Linked DNA regions of Homo sapiens: all the other regions are linked to region 2. Evidence: promoter capture Hi-C in human tissues and cell types (Jung and others, 2019). All regions are on one chromosome and are shown on one strand. The core of a region is centred on a gene start or on the middle of the fragment in contact, and the rest is flanking DNA. Distances in the headings are between cores, read along the strand shown.

Region 1 (2,700 bases), core at 162-2,661, 1.1 Mb before region 2:
AGTCTTTCTATTCAACAAGGTACTGGAATTGTTTGCTGGTGCAATAAGGTGAGAAAAGGAGTTAAAAAGCATATACATTGGAAGTAAAAAAAAATGAAACTATCCATACTTGCAGAACATGAGCCTATCTTAAAGAGTCTAAAAGCAAACTTCCAGAACTCATGAGTGAGTTTAGCAAGGTCTCAAGATAGGAGGGTGCAAAGCTTCAGAGGGAAAAAGTTCCAGGGCCTTAGAACAGGAGAATTTCCTGCAGTAAGTTCTCAGGTCCTCTGCCTGTTCACTTGATTTCCTGTAGGCTTAGCCTGTGAGTCCCCCACCCTGCATGACCCCGGGCCGGTCCTCCCCTCCAATCTCTGCATAAGACACACCACTTTTTGTATTTGATTTTGCTCTGCAACCAGCAAATCCAGGCGACCCAGGTTTCCCTGCCAGTCCTGGCAACAGCAACCAGACACCCCACCCCTGAGCCTCATCCTTACTCAACGTCATCAGCAGGAACTCAGGTAACAGGAATTTCACATTTGTGTACAATTTTATTGAGAAGAGGAAGGAAAAAAGGCATAAAGTGATCTGAAGGCGAAACTTCTTCCATCGCATTTGAGAGAACTCAGGTATTATTGTAACTTTATTTATTTATTTATTTATTTACAAGAGGATCATCCAATGGAAGGTCTCAGAGGAAGTTTCAGGGCCCAGGATTCCAAAGGCGGGCCGTGGACACAGTCTCAGGGCGTCTGTCCCCAAGCGCATGCCATCTGCAGCCAGCAGTCTTGGAACTTTGGTTGGTGGCACCAGGGGACAGCAGTAGGCTGACACTCTCAAAGGTCTTCTCGGATGGAAGTCTCCGGCTCCAGTCGTCTGTCCACTAAGCGAGAGGCGAGTTGCGAGGGAGGCTGCGGGGGCGGGCGGGCGTATGTTGAGACCCTATGCAGCCTCCTGCTCTCCCGAGGGCTCCTGCGGCTCCTCCTGAATTGCCTGCGCCGGATCCAGAGCAGGCGACTCTGCGCCCCGCCTCCAGGTACTCTGAGGCTTGGGAAAGAGATCTTTTCGCCGGCAGTTTCAGCAAGGAAGCACGCAGGGAGCGGAAAGTATGTGGCAGTGGAAATCTAGGTCGGCCCAGGAGAGCTCGCAGTGGTAAGCACAGGAAGGGAGCATCCAGGACACCGAATGTACTGAGCTCCGGGCTGGAGGCATCTGGTCCCGCCGCCTCCTTTGCGGAATCCCGGGCCTGCCAAACTCGGAGGGGACACGGCAACTCCATCGCGTCCTTTCACCAGCGGATACAGGGTATCTAGGACTCATAAGTCAACATCTTTTGCGTTTTTGTAATCTTCTGGTCTCATGGGCCGTCCAAATCAGATTGCAGGGAGGTGGGTGTGAACCTTATTCTTAGGAGCAAGTTACATCAGGACATGGAATTAATGAGATTAACATAAAGTCCTATCATTTGAGATGAAGTTATCTAGTTAAACAATTTGCTTTAGGAATTGAAAAGAAAAAATATCACCTTTCTTGTACAGAGAAAGCCGTCTTGGGGCACCCTGGTTAGAAAGTTCATTATTGTCCCCAAATGCATTGCTAGTACTAGAGCAGACAGGATCCCTTTCTGCCTCAGAGTAGTGCTTGTCAGATGCCTAAAGATCGCTATGTTACTGAGGAGCAGGCCAGGGTAGTTGCCCATTTTTAAAATTAGAGGATCATTTTTTGGGGAGATATTTTATTATTGTATTATTCTGTGTTACGTTGACTCATGTTACATTTTAATTTTAGATTCAGGAGGTACATGTGTAGGTTTGTTATGAGAATATATTGCGTGATTCTGAGGCTTGATCTCATCACCCAGAGAGTGAACTAAATCCCCAGGAGGAAGTTTTTCAGCCTCTACCCCCTTATGTCCCTCCCTCCCTCCTTTCGGAGTCCTCAGTGGTCTATTGTTCTCATCTTTATGTCCCTGTATACCAGGCTGAACTCCCACTTCTAAGTGAGGACATGTAATATTTGTTTCTGCATGAATTTGTTTAGGATAATGGCATCCTTATAGAATAGCTTGAAGCTGGATAATGTGATGCTTTGGGCTTCATTATTTATTTATTTATTTATTGTTTGGGATGCTTTGCCTATTCATTGTCTTTTTTTTTTTTTTTTTTTTTGAGACAGGGTTTTTGCTGCAGCTCAGGTGGGAATGCAGTGTCATGCTCTTGGCAACCTGGACCTCCCAGGCTCAAGGGATCCTCTCCGTCAGCCTCCAGAGTAGCTGGTGATCCTCCCCCCTCAGCCTACAGAGTAGCTGGGAATACAAGTATGTGCCACCATACCTGGCTAATTTTTCTTGTATTTTTTGTAAAGATGGGTTTTCACCATGCTGCTAGCTTGGTGGTTGCCTCAGCCTCCTGAGTGGCTGGGACTACAGACAGCTGGGACTGCAGGCAGGAATCACCACATCCAGCTAATAATTTTTTTTTTTTTTGGTAGAAATTGTGTTTCACTGTGTTATCTGGTTTGGTCTTGGACTTCTGGCCTTAAGTGATCCTCCTCCCTCAGCCTCTCAAAGTGCTTGGATTACAGATGTTAGCCACCATGCCTAGCCCATAATAAAGTTGTTCTAGTCTTAGATTCTTCTCTCATGATGGTAATTCCACCTTCAGTTTTTGGGGTTTTTTTTTTTCGTTTTTTTTTCTTTTTTTTACAACATCTTGCTCT
Region 2 (2,700 bases), core at 194-2,693:
AAGGTACAACAGCTGCTATATGCTAAATTATCACTAGTTATGGGACTTTAGTTACAGTACTTGAATTTCCCCCCAATCCAACTTCTTAAAATGTGTTGAAATACCAACTAGCAATAAGTTAATTTCTCCAGTGTAATTGAATAGTCTAACTTGGTATCTTACTCCTTAACTGATTTTGACTAAAATTATAATATTTACAGGAAAAAAAAAAGTTCAGAGTTAAAAGAATACCATGAAAGGGCAAATGATTTTATGGACAAACTTTGAACTGCATCTTCACTGTTCATTACCTTACTGTATTTGCTAAGGAAGCTAAGATCTCATTTAATTTTTGTGTGCTTTGCTTTGGTTCAAAACTAACATCACATTCTCAGAACTTGGTCAGGCCTTAATCAAATAAAATGCTATTGAGCTTCCACTTGGTCTTTCCACTCTGCTAAGTGCAAAGACAGTTCTGGAGAAATCAGTCGTGGCTCATGTCCTCAAGGAGTTGGTCAAAAGACAAGGCTTGGCGAATATGTACGTGCCATGTCAATGAACTGCTACAATGGAATAAACTTATAATAATGCCTAACATTTATTGACTCCTCATAATAAGGCCATAAACTTTGCATGAATTAACTCATAGAAACGTTATGACGTTGTATCACAAGCAATCCTAATTTGCAGATGAGGACACTGAGGCTTAGGGAAGTTATCTAACTTGCCTAAGGTTAAAGCAATATACTGCTTTTATGGTTGCATCTTTAGTAATCTCTGGGGTTGCTGGGACTCCAGTGCGAGAAAGAGCCCGAAATTCGCAAACTTGGATGATGGGGAAGAAAAGGTGTGCTAAACTCAGGTCACAGAGGTCCAGTCTTAATCTTGTTCCTCTGCAAGCCTTGTTGCTCACACCTCTTGACCGACAGTTCGAGGCAAGTGCTCACAGCAAACTTACTCTATGTAAGCCAAGGCCAGATGTGGGGAGAAGGGGCTGAGAAATGTTAGAAACGTGAACGCAGTCCAGGCGGGAGAAGAGAAGGGGGCCTCGAGGGGTGCCCCTATGCAGCCCACACACACGCCAGGCACTAACTTGGAAAAGCAACAAGCTTGGCGGGAGATCCTCCCGCGGCCGGAGGGCCCTGAACCCTAGGCCAAGACTCATCCACAACCTAGGGGGAGGCGGCCACCAGCGCCCCATCGAAGCTAAAGGGCTGACAGAAGGGCTGTAGCGGCAAGTGTGCGCCAACACAGCTGCACACGCCCAGACACCTGAGGCGCTGAGAGGAACTTCCCCGCGATCCGCCCCGGCTGCACAGAGCCTCTTCTCCCCGCCGGGGCCCCGCCCAGCCTCACTTCTTTTAAAAGCAGCAGCCAGCAGCGCGCCGGTGGCGTGCGGCTCGAAAGGCCGGGAGGACGTCATCGACGCGCTGTCGAGCCTCCAGCCCGCCCGGGTTTCCTTCGCAGTCGCGCACCGACGCTCAAACGCGCGCTCCAACCCGCAGCCTCCTCCTGCCTCACCGCCCGAAGATGGCGGCTCTCAAACTCCTCTCCTCCGGGCTTCGGCTCTGCGCCTCTGCCCGCGGATCTGGGGCAACCTGGTACAAGGTAAAGTGCGGGGGAAGAGGAAGGCCATGGGCAGGAAGAACGTGGACCAAACCCTGAGTGGTGCCCGCGTTTTCTTCTCTGCCCCTACCCGCTCTCTCCAGCCTGGGATCTGGCATCCGTGGCGCGGTGCCCTGGTCACGGACACGCGGCGACGCGTTCCTGGCCTCGCCGGCCCCTCGGATGACCGCCTTTGCTTGGTTCTGCAGTCGCTTCCCTGATGGAGCGAGACGCGATAAAGAAGCGCGCGGAGAGGCTGAGAAGGGGCGGGAGGACTCCTGGCAGCGCTCCCGAGCCCTTTGGCGCTCGTCGGCTTCCCTCCTGGCACCCGCCCTTGGATAGGGACTCTGAGGGTCTGAACGGGGGGAGGAGGGCGCCAGTATATGGAGGTTTAGGAGTGAGGCAACAGCGGGTAGGTTTGCGCCCCCGATGTTGGATCTCTGGGCAGAGGAACCTCTAGAGGCCCAGAACCTGAGGCTGGGTTAGCCATGGCTCTGCTCGAGTTCACCGGGGCTGGATGCCGGGTGCGGCGGGTGTGGAATGCCGCTCCCATCCTCTCCTCCCTATTTGGCTCTGCTGCCCCGTAGACTGGAGCGCTCGCCAGGGCGTCTTGCCGGCCAAGCTGGGAAACCATCCGAGGTGTGTCCCTGGCCCGCGCCTGGGCTGCAGGGGAGGACAAACCTTTCTCTCGAGGCCCCTCGTATCCGGGTTAGGGGCTTTCGGTTTTCAGAGCCCTTTGAAATCCTTTTTGTGCCCCACTGCCGACTCTCCACCGAGTGGTATCCGGAGGCATTCCCACCGTGGACTGACTTGTGGTTTTGCCTTATGCACTGTCCTCGCTTGTAAGCCCACCCCTGTCTGGAGCCCTAGGAGCGAATTACAGGACCAGAGCGCCAGGTCCAGGAGGGTGGCTTTATCCCCGCCGTCTCAATCGCGGGAGCCTCTTCCTTGGTATTCAGTAATAGGTCTGAGCTTGACAGCGTGCCATGCACACGGTGCTTACTCCTGAAGCGTGCCTGCCTGGCCCCATTGCTCTTTCCTGCATCCAATCCCTGACCGCTGAGAACACAGAGGAGCCACTGAGCTCCTTCGGTAGGTGCTAGGGAATGGTTCAGA
Region 3 (2,700 bases), core at 41-2,540, 1.2 Mb before region 2:
AATCAGAACGAATGTAAAATGAATCCTTCTTTGTTGTATTCTTGCTGTGGATTTTTTTTCCTTCTCATATCCTCTGTGAAACTGGAATTTGTCTGAGTTAAACATGCTATTTGGAAAGCATCAATGGATACAATTATAGAATTACCTAATTAAACATTATTGTTTACTATGGTAAAATCTGATTGATCCCAACATTTAGCAAGCATGTTTTGATATCCTTCTGTGTTCCAGGGGCTATAAAGGGAGCCACAAATACAAAGATGAGGAGTTGGCTGCAGTTTTCACAACTCTTACTAATGAGAGAATAAAGACTCTGTCAGGAGATCATTCAGAACACAGCTAACTCTGTGTTTATTCCAGGAGCTGATTTGAAGACCAGAAAGAAAAGGTCTGAATTGAAGCTTCCCTTCAAAGCCATGCTTCTTTTTACTAGAAAAAAGGAAAATATGCAACTATACAACAGGAAGTGAAAAAAATGAAACAGAATGAGAATGACAGAATAGATACAGAAGGCAGAAGATTGAAAGCTCTTGTTAGGTGAAAGGTTTATGGACTCTAGGTGTCTGGAGAATGAATCCTGAGAGCAGGAGCAACTCCTACATGCCAGTATTACTCGAGAAGTACCAGTGGTGATCCCAGAAAACTAGCTTTAGCATTTTTTTTTTTTTTTTTTTGAGACGGAGTCTCCCTCTGTTGCCCAGGCTGGAGTGCAGTGGCGCGATCGTGGCTCACTGCAAGCTCCGCCTCCCGGGTTCATGCCATTCTCCTGCCTTAGCCTCCCAAGTAGCTGGGACTACAGGCACCCGCCACTACACCCGGCTAATTTTCTGTATTTTTAGTAGAGACGGGGTTTCACCGTGTTAGCCAGGATGGTCTCGATCTCCTGACCTCGTGATCCGCCTGCCTCGGCCTCCCAAAGTGCTGGGATTACAGGCGTGAGCCACCGCGGCCGGCCTCTTTAGCATTTCTTTGAGTATGTAGCCTGGATGTGTCTCTCCAGATGTGAACAGTGGATGGAACCTTGCATTGTAGAGAGTTGGCAGTGCTCTGCATGGGTATAACACACAGAGTAGTGACCATTCCCAAAGGAGACCCATGTCACACAGGCAGAGACCTGCTGTCCAGACTCTTATGCAGACATACTTCTCCCTCCAACATGTGCAAAGGAATGTACTATTTCTTTTCAACTTCCCCAGACAAAAACTGTTAAGGCAGGTGATACTTTCTCAGGGAATGTTGATTTACACATACTGCAATTATAATATTATCTGAAAAAAAAGAAATCTGCAAGTGATCTGAGGGTAAATGCTGCAGCTGCAAGCCCCACTTGCAAGTATTCTCAGGACAAATGGGAAATGGGTTAAATGACTGCGTATAGTATTTTGCTTTTACATGTTATTTATATTATGTTACATCCTCCAAGAATTAGCGTGTCATAACTTAGAGAATAAAGAACTCAGCTGATATAGGGGTCAACTAATCTGATAAACTTAGGAAGAAAATGTAGAAATATACCATCAAGCGTTATCAGTTACAGCTTTCTTACAAATGCCTTTGCTACATCTTTGGCCAACCTGATAATTTATGGAGTCAATATCATATACGTGGGCACTGTATCATCAGTAGTTTAACAATTCAATCAAAACTAAATCAAAACTTCCACCTTTATCTAATCATGTATCATTTTTGCCTAGAGGCCAGCAGGCCATCTTGGGCAGAAGACTACAAGATTTTTTTAGTCTAGATACCTCCCATTTAGTTCACTGAAAGCCATTAATTGCTTTCTCTTTGTCCATGGCTGTAACAAACGTTTATTTTTATTTTGGAGGCAAGGTTTCACTCTGTAGCTCAGGCTAGAATGCAGTGGTATCATCACAGCTCACTTCAGCCTTGAACTCCTGGGCTCAAACAATTATGTTGCCTCAGCCTCCTGTGTGGCTGGGACTACAAGCAGACACCAACACATCCAGCTAATTTTTTTTTTTTTTTTTTTTTTACTAGAGATGGTATTTTACTATGTTGCCTGGGCTAGTTTTGAGTTTTTGGCCTCAAGTGATCCTCCTGCCTCAGCCTCCCATAGTGCTGGGATTACAGGCATGAGCCACTATGCCCGGCCCATAATAAAGTTTTCTAGTCTTAGAATCTTTGTACTTTATATTCTCTCATGATGGTAACTCCACCTTTTTTTTTTTTTTTTTGAGACAGGGTCTTGCTCTGTTGCCCAGGCTGGAGTACAGTGGTGTGTTCTCAGCTCACTGCAAGCTCTGCCTCCCGGGTTCAAATGATTCTCTCGCCTCAGCCTACTGAGTAACTTGAGATTACAGGTGTGGGCCACCACGCCCAGCAAATTTTCTTATATTTTTAGTAGAGATGGCATTTCACCATGTTCGCCAGGATGGTCTTGAACTCCTTGCCTCAAGTGATCCGCCTGCCTTGGCCTCCCAAAGTGCTAGGAGTACAAGTGCGAGCCACTGCACCCAGCCTAGGTTGGTTTGTTTGTTTTTTGGTGTTGTTCATTGCATTACTCATATCGAAGTGGAAGTATCTGTGACAATTCTATCCTTACTATAGTAGCTAATATAATATCCTCCTAGTTACCTTTTCAACTAAGTTGCGTTAAGTTTCTTGATAACATTTATCATATAAACACGGTTTTATTTATTTATTTGTTGTCATGCTTTTTTTTTTTTTTTACAATCC

The links. The method cuts DNA at HindIII sites, captures the fragments that hold promoters and counts their contacts. A contact is called where the count stands out against the background at its distance.
Region 1: a fragment that was not itself captured here is called in contact with the fragment with the promoter of OXCT1 in region 2 in 1 of the 25 tissues and cell types used here (mesenchymal stem cells).
Region 3: a fragment that was not itself captured here is called in contact with the fragment with the promoter of OXCT1 in region 2 in 1 of the 25 tissues and cell types used here (lymphoblastoid cells).

What each region holds. Positions count from the first base shown.
Region 1 is chr5:42,998,821-43,001,520 of GRCh38, reverse strand. It overlaps LOC105374746 (a long non-coding RNA gene), which reads right to left. Exons shown (of 3, transcript XR_007058755.1): 3 at 514-1,388. Among named protein-coding and RNA genes, the nearest start is that of FLJ32255, 6.8 kb to the right of the region's middle. RefSeq lists enhancers at 571-1,070, 1,071-1,572. The HindIII fragment of the contact is 7,656 bases long and covers 1-2,700 here.
Region 2 is chr5:41,869,168-41,871,867 of GRCh38, reverse strand. OXCT1 (3-oxoacid CoA-transferase 1) reads left to right here and starts at 1,443. Exons shown (of 17, transcript NM_000436.4): 1 at 1,443-1,587. The coding sequence starts at 1,510. OXCT1-AS1 (OXCT1 antisense RNA 1) reads right to left here and starts at 1,838. Exons shown (of 3, transcript NR_046635.1): 1 at 1,676-1,838; 2 at 1,486-1,577; 3 at 1-1,102. LOC102723752 (a long non-coding RNA gene) reads right to left here. Exons shown (of 3, transcript XR_925956.4): 1 at 2,266-2,700. RefSeq lists enhancers at 847-896, 1,727-1,806. The HindIII fragment of the contact is 6,323 bases long and covers 1-2,700 here.
Region 3 is chr5:43,026,788-43,029,487 of GRCh38, reverse strand. The region is part of intron 2 of ANXA2R-OT1 (ANXA2R overlapping transcript 1); the gene reads left to right. LOC105374748 (a long non-coding RNA gene) reads right to left here. Exons shown (of 3, transcript NR_188279.1): 3 at 1,792-2,700. Among named protein-coding and RNA genes, the nearest start is that of ANXA2R, 12 kb to the left of the region's middle. The HindIII fragment of the contact is 3,202 bases long and covers 1-2,700 here.